Linked DNA regions of Homo sapiens: region 1 is linked to region 2. The links are contacts of gene promoters, found by promoter capture Hi-C in blood cells and fetal thymus (Javierre and others, 2016). All regions are on one chromosome and are shown on one strand. Each heading gives the region's core, a stretch centred on a gene start or on the middle of the fragment in contact. The rest is flanking DNA. Distances are from core to core; before and after follow the strand shown. Region 1 has its middle 5.2 kb from the start of RAB5A. Region 2 holds the start of UBE2E1 (ubiquitin conjugating enzyme E2 E1).

Evidence for each region. The method cuts DNA at HindIII sites, captures the fragments that hold promoters and counts their contacts. A CHiCAGO score of 5 or more calls a contact.
Region 1: a contact is called between a fragment that was not itself captured here and the fragment with the promoter of UBE2E1 in region 2, in 1 of 17 cell types (non-activated CD4 T cells). The highest score is 6.3, in non-activated CD4 T cells.

The regions. Positions count from the first base shown.
Region 1 is chr3:19,938,533-19,945,316 of GRCh38, forward strand. It overlaps a transcript of EFHB not described here and the pseudogene HSPA8P18. Among named protein-coding and RNA genes, the nearest start is that of RAB5A, 5.2 kb to the right of the region's middle. The HindIII fragment of the contact is 1,181 bases long and covers 4,333-5,513 here.
Region 2 is chr3:23,801,124-23,807,624 of GRCh38, forward strand. It overlaps UBE2E1 (ubiquitin conjugating enzyme E2 E1), which reads left to right and starts at 4,832. Exons shown (of 6, transcript NM_003341.5): 1 at 4,832-4,965; 2 at 6,114-6,298. The coding sequence starts at 6,147. UBE2E1-AS1 (UBE2E1 antisense RNA 1) reads right to left here and starts at 5,782. Exons shown (of 2, transcript NR_046652.1): 1 at 5,696-5,782; 2 at 2,901-3,591. RefSeq lists silencers at 4,768-4,877, 4,958-5,087, 5,278-5,577, 5,778-5,957 and an enhancer at 6,258-6,347. The HindIII fragment of the contact is 12,732 bases long and covers 1-6,501 here.

The sequences.
Region 1 (6,784 bases), core at 3,673-6,172, 3.9 Mb before region 2:
CAGTACAATTACTTTGATTTTCTGAATGTTTGAAAATGTTCATCATAAAATGTTAGGAAAAAAATAAGAGATGTGGGTCAACATCTCTGGTATCTTCACAGTCACAGACTTGATTTAGACCTCATTACATCTTAACTGGAATCTTGCAATCACCTTTACACTGGCCTTCATGTTAGCCCACTGCAGTCTCTCCTCACCCCAAGGATCGCCAGAGAGAACCTTCAGAAGCAAAAATTGGACCTCCGTGATCCAGTCTCTGCCAACCTCTTCAGCTTTATCCCTGACGCTTGCCACCTTACTGCGGCCTGTACTACAGCTCAACCCAGGGCGTGTAGTTCCACTCGCACACTGGGCTATTTTATGACTTTCTGGTTTGCTTTTGTTTTGTTTTTGAGAAGGAGTCTCACTCTGTCACCCAGGCTGCAGTGCAGTGGCACAATCTTGGCTCACTGCAACCTCTGTCTCCAGGGCTCAAGCGATTCTCCTGCCTCAGCCTCCCTTGTAGCTGAAACTACAGGCACCCGCCACCATGCCCAGCTAATTTTTGTACTTTCAGTAGAGACAGGGTTTCACCATGTTGGTCAGGCTGGTCTCAAACTCCTGACCTCAGGTGATCCACCTGCCTTGGCCTCCCAAAGTGCTGGATTACATGCACGAGTCAACATGCCCAGCCTACTTTATGACTTTCTGCTTTTGCCCCTGTTGTCCCCCTTGCTTGGAATGCTTTATTCCAACTCATCCTCTGCCCTCCTTGCCTGGTAAATGCTCTTCAAGACTCAACCCAGGGATTACTTCTTCCCAGTAGCACGTCTTGCCACTCAAACTGGGTTGGGTCTCCTTTTTTTTTTTTTTTTTTTTTTTTTTTTTTGGGATGGAGTCTCACTCTGTCGCGCCCAGGCTGGAGTGCAGTGGCGCGATCTTGGCTCACTGCAAGCTCCGCCTCCCGGGTTCACGCCATTCTCCCGCCTCAGCCTCTAGAGTAGCTGGGACTACAGGCGCCCGCCACCACACCCGGCTAATTTTTTGTATTTTTAGTAGCGATGGGGTTTCACCGTGTTAGCCAGGATGGTCTCTATCTCCTGACCTCGTGATCCGCCCGCCTCGACCTCCCAGAGTGCTGGGATTACAGGCGTGAACCACCGCACCCGCCCATGGGTCTCCCTCTTTCATGCTCCCATAGCACCTCAAACTTATTTGTAACAGTATTTATCCTACTATGATCTATGTGGGTTTCCATGTCTGTGTACTAAACTAGATGCTCCTTGAAGAGCAAGCCTTCTAATAGAATGCACAGGGTCTGATCTAAAAAAGGCTTTGATAAACCACTGTAAAACCGAACAATTGATATTGAACTGGCATGGATGACACTCTGGCACCCTCCAACAACTTAGTGTTATAGATTTGATTGTATCTCCTCTACAGGAGTTTAAGGCCCACTGCCCCTATTGACTCAGCCATCTTCCGACATCTCTCAAACACCACCTTCCTCATGAAGACTACTCAATTTCCTGCCCCAGTTTGGAATGATCTGTCCAATTCCTTTAAAGGCTTACTTTCTATGTACTTCTTTTTTTATGAGATTACAGGCCTTTTTAGGCAAATTTTGACTGGGAAAAATTAAACTACATTGACTGATCAAAAAAGAAAAAAAACTGCCACAGAATTTGCTACATATTTGGGTCCTTCAGTGTTTTAAGTGTGTGGAACAATGCTACATCTGTACTTGGGCTGGCTTATTCAGTGTTGGGCCCTGAGAAAGCACCATCAGAGGGAGGAGATCCACCAACAGTGAATCCCCTAGGCATTCCTCCTGCACTCTGCTAGAGCTTTGTAATGATGGGATTGCAGACTCTCTCCAGCTCTTTCTGCTGATGTTCAAATTCTTCCTTCTCAACAGCCTGATTCTTATCTATCCAGTTAATAATTTCATTACGCCTGACAAGAATCTTCTGTTTGTCTTCATCGTGAATCTTGCCTTGAAGTTTCTCATCTTCAACAGTTGCTTCCATGTTGAATTCATAGGATTCAAGGGAATTCTTTGATGACACCTGTCTCTGCTTCTCATCTTCAGCTTTGTACTATTCAGCCTCCTGGACCACACATTTAATGTCTTTCTTGCTAAAATGGCCCTTGTCATTAGTGACAGTAATCTTGTTCTTTTTCCTGTACTCTTGTGCACAGCAGAGACACTGAAGATGCCATTGGCATCAATATCAAATGTGACTTCAATGTGAGGAACACCTTGGAGTGCCAAAGGTATGCCTGTGAGTTGAAACTTGCCAAGCAGGTTGCTATCCTTGGTCATGACATGCTCACCTTCATAAACCTGAATAAGCACATCAGGCTGCCTGTCAGAGTAGGTAGTGAAGGTCTGTCTGCTTGGAAGGAATGGTAGTATTATGCTTAATGAGAACAGTCATGACTACACCATCGGTTTCAATACCATGGGAAGGAAGAATGACATACAAGAGCAACAAATCTTGAGCATTTTCAGATTTGTTGCCAGACAGAATGGCTGCTTGGACAGCTGCACCATAAGCAACAGCTTCATTAGGGCTGATGCTCTTATTCAGTTCTTTTCCATTGAAAAAGTCTTGGAGAAGCTTCTGAATCCTGGGGATAAAAGTAGAACCACCATCCAGGAAAATATCATGAATCTGTGACTTGTCTAGTTTGGTGTCTTGAAGGGCTTTCTCTATAGGGTCCAGGTGTCACAGAACAGGTCAGCATTCAGTTCTTCAAATAGGGCATGTGTAAGAGGTATAGACATTGATTCATTCATAGAGAAAATGGATCTCAATACTAGCCTGGCTGCTCAAGAAAGAGTGTACTTAGCATGTTCACAAGCAGTATGGGGATGTCAGACAGCTCTCTTATTCTCACTGATGTCCTTTGTATGCTTGTACTTGAACTCAGCAATAAAATGGTGGACCACTTGGTTGTCAGTGTTTTCCACCTAAGTGGGTGTCTCCTGCTGTAGATTTCACCTCAAAGATTCCATCCTCAACAGTGAGGACTGACACATTAAAAGTGCCACTTCCAGGTCAAGCGCAATGGCTCACGCCTGTAATCCTAGCACTTTGGGAGGCTGAGGCAGGCGGATCACCTGAGGTCAAGAGTTCAAGACCAGCCTGGCCAACATGGAAAAACCCCGTCTCTACTAAAAATACGAAAATTAGCTGGGCATGGTGGTGCATGCCTGTAATCCCAGCTACTCGGGAGGCTGAGGCACAAGAATCGCTTGAACCCGGGAGGCAGAGGTTGCAGTGAGCCAAGATTGCGCCACTGCACTCCAGCATGAGCAACAAGAGTGAGACTCCATCAAAAAAAAAAAAAAAAGGCCAGGAACAGTGGCTCACACCTGTAATCCCAGCACTTTGGGAGGCTGAGGGGGGGCAGATCACCTGAAGTCAGGTGTTTGAGACCAGCCTGGCCAACATGGTGAAACCACGTCTCTACTAAAAATACAAAAAAAATTACCCAGGCGTGGTGGTGGGCACCTGTAATCCTAACTACTCAGGAGGCTGAGGCAGGAGAATCACTTGAACCTGGGAGGCAGAGATTGCAGTGAGCCGAGATCGCACCACTCCAGCCTGGGTGACAGAGCGAGAATCCATCTCAAGAAAATAAATAAATAAAAATTTAAAAGTACCACTTCTAAGGTCAAAGATCAGCACATTTCATTGAGCTCCAACCTTTTGCCTAAGGCATAAGCAATAGAAGCAGCAGTTAGCTCATTGATAATTCTCAGTACATTGAGATAAGCAATAGTTCCAGCATCTTTGGTAGCTTTGATGCTGAGAATCATTAAACCAAGCTGATATTGTGACCACAGCATTGGTAACACTCTTTCCAAGGTAGGCTTCTGCCATTTCCTTCATCTTTGTCAGAATAACAGAGCAGCTGTCCCCAACCTTTTTGGCACCAGGGACCAGTTTCATGGAAGACAATTTTTCCACAGACCAAGTTGCAGGGGGTAGGATCGGGGGAAGATAGTTTTAGGACAATTCAAGCACATTACATTTATTGTGCACTTTATATTATTATTACATTGTAATATATAATGAAATAATTATATAACTCACCATAATGTACAATCAGTAGGAGCCCTGAACTTGTTTTCCTGCCACTAGACGGTCCCATCTGGAGGTGATGGAAGAGAGTGACAGATCATCAGGCATTAGATTGTCATAAGAAGTGCTAGATCCCTTGTGTGTGCAATTCACAATAGAGTTCACACTCCTATGAGAATCTAATGCTGCCACTGATCTGACAGGAGGGGGAGCTCAGGTGGTAATGTGAATGATGGGGAGCAGCTGTAAATACAGATGAAGCTTCACTGACTTGCTGCCACTCACCTCCTGCTGGGCAGCCAGTTCCTAACAGGCCACAGTCCAGTACCAGTCCATGGCCCTAGAGGACACCTTTCTGGACAGAAGTTTTTTTTATCTCTCCCTTGTATTCTACTTGGACCTTGGGCCTGCCAACATTATTCACTACCATGAAGGGCCAATGCTTCATATCAGACTGGACAACAGCATAATCAAGTCTGTGTCCAATCAGCAATCAGATTTGGCATCAAAAACTGTGTTCATGGGGTTCATTGCAACTTGATTCTTTGTGGCATCACTGAGCAATTGTTCAGTATCAGTAAAGGTGACATAGCTTGGAGTGATTCAATTTCCCTGATCATTGGCAATTACCTCTATTTTTACATGCTGGAAAACACCCACACAAGAGTAGATGGTGCCAAGATGAATACCAACTGCAGGTCCTTTAAACAGGGTTGTTTGCATGTAGGCCGGATTGGATTCTGAAGAAAGACATAGGAACCCCAAAAGTGGCCACAGCATTCAATAAATCCCCATAAATTCTTCAAATGACTTTGCAGTATGTAAATCCAGGTAAGGGCTCATTCAATTCATTCATTCATTCTACAAACAGGTATTGAGTCCCTCCCTATTTTGTGTCAGTGTTGGGAATACAGTTAGCCCTCTGTATTCCATCGAAAGTATTTGAGTTAAAAAATGAAAAAAACACAAAATAATACAAATTAAAAAAATACAACTATTTACATATCATTTACATTGTATTACTTATTGTAAGTAATCTGAAGATGATTTAAAGCATACAGAATAGCCTACATGCAAATACTACACCATTTTACATGAGACTAGAGCATCTGCAAATTTTGGTACCCATATGGTGGGGGAATAAGGGAGTGTCCAAGAACCAATCACAAGCAGATGGACTGACTGTATAACCCAACCCCTATCTCATGGAGCTTATATTCTAGTAGGGATAGATAACCATTAAGTGGAACGATGCGTAATATCATATCAAATGGTGCTAAGTGTTATGAAGACAATGCATAATATCATATCAAACAGTGCTGTTATGAAGACAACAGACTACTTCGATATGTAACAAAGCATTTAGAATTAGTGGGCTTAGAAGTCCCTTAGGTAGATGACATTTGAGCTGAAGCCTGAATGATGCCCTCCAAAGACACAAGCTTTTGAAACATGACTAGCTTAAGTTTTCACAGCCTTTTATTCACTGACTTGCTACTACGCCAATGTTAGAGTTACCGTTGGTTTGTCTCCAGGAAAAATTTTGAATTGTCTCCAGACAGTTCCAGTTAAAAGTAAATGTAACCATTCATTATCATCTATGCAAAGATTCATTCTTTAGCTACACAAGGGAGGACAGATTTCCTGGAAGAGAAGGAAAAGGTTATGGGATCCTGTGAATGGTAGAGAGACACCTGCCACTGGGAATTTGTTATTGAGTATTTAGAGATTTGAGGGCAGTATAAGCATCAAAGACAGTGTTTAAGTCTTCATGATTATTTATCCATTTTGTACCTTCCTTAACAAGTTCTATCAACTGGTAGGACTCCACATTTGACACTAAAATATATACAATTATCAGTCCTCCTCAGTTATCTGGGGCTATGAAAAAGAAAACATAGGCATATTGCAAGTGGCAATAAAACAACAGAGCTTTACTGTGTCATTTCAATTTCTCTAAAACTACTACCGGATCTTTAGAAATGCCAGCCACCAGGGCAGCACTCTTCCAGGCAAACATTATGACTAAACTGTAAAATATTGTGAAAAGTATTCATGAAGGAGGTGAAGACAAAATCACTAAACAGGAACGAGTGAAGAAGCAACATACTGGAACGATGAAATAGGGAGTTTTTTGCAATTTATAAATTTCAGCATCAAATGTTTTTCATTGTGAGGTCTTCTTAATGTTCGTGATTCTAAATGTAATTAAGTTCACCAATACTTTGGGGGTCCCTATTATAGCAGTCAAGGGTCTTCTGTGAAGAACTGAAATGATGAATAACTGATGGTCACAGCCCTTAAAAACCTTATAATTCAATGAAAGGCTAAGGAGAAAAGTCCAGGTGCTCATTAGCTATTAAAATAAGGCAGATTTTAAGACAGCCATTATACAGAGTAAGGCAAAGTATTGTGAAATTACAGAAAAAATAATAATTGAATCCAGTAGAAGTATCTGCAGATGCGGTCCAAAGGAACTGGTGTCCTGGCTAAGACGGAGCCAGCAGTTATGGGCAATGATAGTGTTCCATGTGGAGAAAATAAAGTGATCAGATACCAAGATGGCAACACACAGGCAATATTCAGGGAACACAGACCAGATACGTGTGATCAGGGAACAAATAAAGAGTATGGGGAGAGGAATTCTATAGAAATAGAATGAAAGAAACTTGGGTTGGGACTAGAGTTAAAGAACTTTAGACTGTCAAGTA
Region 2 (6,501 bases), core at 3,582-6,081:
AACTTTCCTTATCTTTCTTACAAGGAATGGATTTTTCAGCCAAAGGAGAATTATAAAATGAAACAAGTCGATTGAAATCCAGTGAGTCCATTTTTCCCAGAAAGGCTTTATATAAATTCTTTATAAGTTGCAAACACAAGATTTTTTTTTCTTTGGATGGAAAAAGGAAATCTTTTCTTTTTCTTTTTTTTTTTTATGGAGTCTCACTCTGTCACCAAGGCTGGAGTGCAATGGCATGATCTCGGCTCACTGCAACCTCTGTCTCCTGGGTTCAAGAGATTCTCCTGCCTCAGCCTCCCGAGTAGCTGGGATTACAGGCACTCATCACCACACCCAGCTAATTTTTGTATTTTTAGTAGAGACGGGGTTTCACCATGTTGGCCAGGGTGGTCTCAAACTCCTGACCTCAGGTGATCCGCCCACCTCAGCCTCCCAAAGTGCTGGGATTACCAGTGTGAGCCACCACGCCCAGCAAAGGAAATCCTTTCTATTCAGCAATAAGGTAAGTTAAAAAACTATATTAACCAACGTTAACTTGCTTGACAATTCTTTGGACATGAAATTGGCCAAAGAGAATCTTTATGAAATACTTGAATTTCAGTGTAAGCAACAAGTCAAAAAGTTAAACCAAGTCTCCCTCTTTCAACTGTATTATTTCACCTCCTAGGGATCAACTAGCACCTTGATCTTCAAGTGTTTCTACTTAAATGTACTTGATACACTAAAGATGACTTGAAGGAGAGTTGGGTCATTCTGAAAACCAGGAATAGGTATTAATAAAAACTGGAGCCCACTTTCTCAAAGTCCACAGGATGTCACAGTGTAATACTACTTGGGCTTCTGTGACTGGCTGGTTTTCTAAAATGTAAATTGAGCATTACTATCAAAGCATTCAGTGCATATGTATGCATTTGCTTTACACATGCATAGACTACAACCGAAAACTGCTTTCTCCAAAGGAAATTAGGGGTGGGGGAAGGGGCAGAAAGATATTTTCGTGGCATACTCTCTGGTTTCTTTAGAATAATATAGCATGAAAATGTATTATCTATTTAAAATATATCCATATAGGCAAAATAAATAAATAATGAGGACTATTCTCAGGATGAGGGTGGGGTTGGGGAACTTCAATAGCAGTCATTAGTTCAAGCAACCATGTTACAAATTCAGTGATTCCCTTAGCTTGCTTCCATGTTCCCACTTTCCCAGCTGTCTTGATTGTTAATATATTCTCGAAAATATTATCAGAGACTACTATATTTATTTTATTTATTTACTTATTTTGAGACAGGGTCTCACTCCCACCACCCAGGTTGGAGTACAGTGGCACAATCACAGCTCACTGCAGCCTCAACCTCTGGGGCTCAGGTGATTCTCCCACCTCAACCTCCCAAGTATCTGGGACCACAGGCATGTGCCACCAGGCCTGGCTAATTTTTGCATTTTTTGTAGAGACAGTCTTGCCATGTTGCCCAGGCTGGTCTTGAACTCCTGGGCTCAAGGAGTCTGCCTGCCTTGGCCTCCCAAAGTGCTGGAATTACAGGCGTGAGCCACTGCACCCGGCCCTTTTATATTTAATACATTTTTCTGCAATGTAATTGAGGCTCTTCTCCCACTCCAATATTGCCAGAACTGACAAGATCATCTGTGGATAGCATGGGTCATAACAACAATTTTGCCACCAACTTACTGCATGACCTTGGATAAGACATACTGGCTTTTTTTTTTTTTTTTTTTTTTTTTTTTTTGAGACAGAGTCTTGCTCTGTCCCCAGGCTGAAGTGCAGTGGCGCGATCTCGGCTCACTGCAACCTCCAATCAAGACTCGCTGGTTCAAGAGATTCTCTTGCCTCAGCCTCCCGAGTAGCTGGGATTCCAGGCACATGTCACCAAGCCTAGATAATTTTTGTATTTTTAGTAGAGACGGGGTTTCACCATCTTGGCCAGGATGGTCTCAATCTCCTGACCTCGTGTTCCACCTGCTTTGGCCTCTCAAAGTGCTGGGATTACAGGCATGAGCCACCACGCCCGGCCAACATACCGGCCAACATAACTTTCTTTGCTTTGATTTCTTTATCTGTAACATGAAGAGTGTGAACTAGAAGATATCTTAGGCCCCTTCTAGGCATAAAATACTATGATTCCTTGAGTATATGTTTCTCCTGGAAGGTTTCTTATATTTTCATCAATTCTAAGTTATAAAAACCCCATGTCCTCTTTTCTGCCCTGGTGACGAAAAACAAAAACATAAAAGCAACAAATAACCCCAAACCCATGAACTAAGAAAATTCCACTAGAGTGGAATTATTAATAATTTACTTTGCGTAACAGCTAATAAATCACCTTACTTACAGATACATATTTGACCTTGCCAGTCAGTAGAGCACAGGTATTTCTGCCCTTTATGGATGAGGGAACTGAGGCTCAGGGAGGTCAATTTAGCTTTTTAGGCCTTGTAGTTAATAAGAAGGAGAGATAGAAAGTTGTGTATGAATTTTTTTTCCCCTAAGACAGCTGCATACAGGTCTTAAAAATAATTCGACATAAAGATTAGTCTTTTGAGAGGACTGGATTCTTTTCTAAACATTTTGAAGTTTTTATTCCCTGTCATCAGGTCATTCCAAAACGATAAAGCACTAACTTAAGCTAGCTGGAATTAGAGATTAGGGGGAACAGTACACAAAAGAGGGCAAGAAACCTTCCAGACAGGTGGTTGGGAAATCACTTTTCCTTATAGGAGGAGCTGTTAGATTTCATGATTTCTTTCACAAGGAATCAGTCCAACCCAAGCATCAGTAACACAACACAAAATATCATGTTCTGTTACAAAAGAATTCTTATTATAGCTGGTAGGCAATTTATGCAAACCAATATTAAAGAAAAAATTCACCTACTGTCCTGATCACTTCAGCAAATCAAACCTTTTATTTTCCTGTGATCTCTGCTAGTTCTTGTCTTTATAACACATGATTTTTTTACTGGTTGTATTCATAATGTAGACATATATTTTTAAGTATCAGAAATCCAAATTTTCATAGGAGGAAATTTCAATTTTAATAACTATTTTTAGATTATTTTCCTCATCCTGAGTTTATTTCATCTTCTTATTGTTTTCTTCTGAATTTACATCTTTTCATCAGAACAAAAAGAATACAATCAGTTTTTCAGAAGTTTAAAAAATTTTTTCAAATATATAGCAAAGAATGTCATCATTTTTATATACTCTACCAGGACTCCTGAAACCAAACACTTAAGAAAGGTTATGTCTGGAAATTTTTTCAAAATCTATATGCATTTCAGTGGTGGAGAAATAGTTCTGTCTGGAAGCAGGAGGCTGAAATTATGACCCTGAAGATTTCTTCCAGCTTTTGAACTTCTTATTCTATGACAACTCCTGGTAGATACAGGTTTCCTGGTAGGGATTGAGCAAGAAGCATGCACAATTACTTTATGAGTCTTGATAAAGCTGGAATTTCAGGTTGATGGTTAGAAGGAGTTCGGCTGGGTCGTGAGAATGCTTGTTTTCCTGGTTACTGGATATGCCATGGGCTGTATATCTTGTGTTGTCCTGTGGTAACTGAAGCCACTGTTGCTGTGGAAAATGATGGCAGTTTGAATGAGATAATTTAGAGTGACCTATGGAAATCTGAGGCTGTCTCCTTAATGTACAAGACCTTGTATGTGTGGCACTGTTGTATTTGAATGGCACACATCTCTTTAGTTCCCTTCAACTGAAATGACAAAAGGTGAGAAACTGAATCGTAATTTGATGGCTTAATATTAAAAAAAAATTGGCAAAAATGCTAAATAAGGAACAATTCAGAAGAATTGCTGATCATTTCAAAAATATTATTTGCATAGCATTTATAGGTAGCTAAAGAAAGAGAAAAATGGCTTAATATTTTAAAAATAATTTGGTCAATTTAGCGATCTGGGGATTCTGCGATCCCCAGAACTTTGCATCCAATTTCCAAAAACCAAACCTTACATCTAATGTAAAATGACACAAAAAATTCTAAATCCAGTCTAATTCAGTAGTATATAGCTTATTCCCAGTGATGTCTCACATTCGCAAGCCCGTTACACGTTGGTTTTACCTGTCACCAAAACCTTTGTATCACTCTTATAAAAAACCACATCACTTTCTATAAAAAGTGAGTGGAAGAATCTAATATTGTAAAACTGCACGTGCCTCGCGTGACCTGAGCAGAAAATTCCTAGTTTGGGATTTTCTCACAGGCATACCTAAACTGACCTCTGCTCCTAGCAGGTAAATTGCTAGAAGGAGAAGCAAGTGTCAGTCCAAAGAAAACCCTTGTTGTGTGATTTTTTTTTTCTCTTTAATCGCTTTTTAGGTGGAGTACCCGCTGCATTCTCTAAAGTCTTTGCCACCACCAGATTACCAACGTTTTCACCAATTTGCCACCTCCCTACTCCTCTCCTTTCCAAAAGCCCTCATTGGAAAGAACTTTCTCTCGTGACCCCCCTATTCCATCTAGTTCCAATCACTCCCAGCGCCCCCCATCTCCATCGGCTTCCCCTCTCCCGCCCAGAATCCAGGTTCCCAAACCACTTAAGAGAAAATTCACAACCCTCGCCCCCTTCCCGGGCGTCCGGAGGAGGCGCTGGGGTGGGGGTGTCTGTGGGGGACAGGGTTTCCTGGGGTCTCCTGGGTCTTCCTCGCGCACCCCCAGGAGGTGTTGCAGGGGGAGGGGAGCGCGGGTGGGTGGGACCGGGCCGGGTGGGGGAGGGGTGAGGGCGAGGAGGAGGAGGAGGAGGAGGCGGCGGCGGAGGAGTGGTGTGTGTGCGAGCGTGTGTGGCTGGGGGAAGCCATTGCCTGTTTAATAGTTGCTGTTGCTGCACTTCCGCTTCTCTCCCAGCGAGAGAGAGACACGAGTGGCCAGGCCCAGCCGCAGCCGCAGCAGCAGCCGCCGCGGCGGCACGGAGGAGCCAGACACAAAGAGAGGTACGGGGATCCCCCCAGCGGCCCGCCGCCCCCCGGCCGCGCCGCCGGGCCTCGGGGACACCCCTCGCCGCCTCCCCCGACTCGCGCCGCCGGGGCCGCCGGGCCGCAGGGCACGGGGCCGGCGCGGGGGGGGAGCGGAGAGGGGCTGGGGAGCCCCAGGGGTCCGGGGCCCGCCCGCGGGGGATGGGCAGGGACCCCGGGCCGCGTGGGGTGCGGGGGCCGCCCGCATTGAGGACGGGGGTCATTGTGGCTCGAACTGTCAGCGCTGCCCCAAGAGCCCCCCACTGGCCACCGAGGGGCCCGGGAGCGGGGGTGGGAGGGAGTTGGGGGAGCCCCGTTTTCCCCAGGGGCGGGGGTTCGCGGGGATTAACCCCTCCGGGGCGGAAGGGCTCATTGTTATGTCTTCGCTGCGGAGGCCGACCCCCCCATTCCCCGCCGCAGCCCCTATCCCCCTACAGGAGTGGCGATCGGGCGTGTGCTCCGGACCCCCGCCCGGCCGCATAGCTGTGAGCAGGGCGGCCAGAGGCAGGCAGGCCGGGAGGGGCGTCGGGGCGCGGCGCGGGGGGGCCTCGGGCCTCGTCGCCCCTGCCCCCCGCCGGCCTCTCCCTTCCCCCACCCGGGCACCCGCTCCCCGCCTCCGTCCCCCTGTTTCGGCTTCCTCTCTTACTCCTTCCCGCCCCTCCTCTCTTCCCGACCTCGCCAAACTCCGCTCGTGGCCCCACAGTCTCACCCGGGCCACCGGCCCCTCACGACCCCCGGAAAGCGGACAAAAACAGCCCCGAGGCCGGCCGGCCGCCGGGACCTTCCCTCCCTGCCCCGCCGTGGCGCCCCGCGCCCCCCGCCCTGCCCTCCTTCGCCTCCCGGGCTACTCCCTCCCTGCCCAGCGGAGAGCCCCGGGGGGCGAGGGAGGGGCCTCTCTCCTAGCTCCAGACCGTTTTCCCACAGCGTTCCCCACTTGGGGCCAAAAATAAACAAGCCGCGTCCGATTTGCAAAAGCCTTAATGGGCCTGCAGACTTTGAAAAGCGAGTGGAGGGCGGTGGGCGGCCGCGTGCGCCCCTGGTCAATGCCCTCCTGACAGCACCCGAGTTCCTTATTTACACTGGCTGCATGGTTTGTGTGTTTCTGTTTTGTTTCTCTCCCCCTGCAGGGGCTGTTTGCGGGGTGGGGTGGGGGGTTCGCTATGTCGGATGACGATTCGAGGGCCAGCACCAGCTCCTCCTCATCTTCGTCTTCCAACCAGCAAACCGAGAAAGAAACAAACACCCCCAAGAAGAAGGAGAGTAAAGTCAGCATGAGCAAAAACTCCAAACTCCTCTCCACCAGCGCCAAGAGGTACTGTGCTCTTTTTTTTTTCCACAGGCTTCCTATTTCCGAACTGCCTCTTGCTGCATTTGGTCTGCCTCCCAATGAGGATAGCTTAAACGCTCCTCATGGTTTATGTGTTCTTAAAAATGAAAGAAGGGCCTTGGAAGCCCTAATTATTTTCTCTATTGCTGCTTCTGTTTTTAAATCATTGCTCACATGCAGCTGTTGCG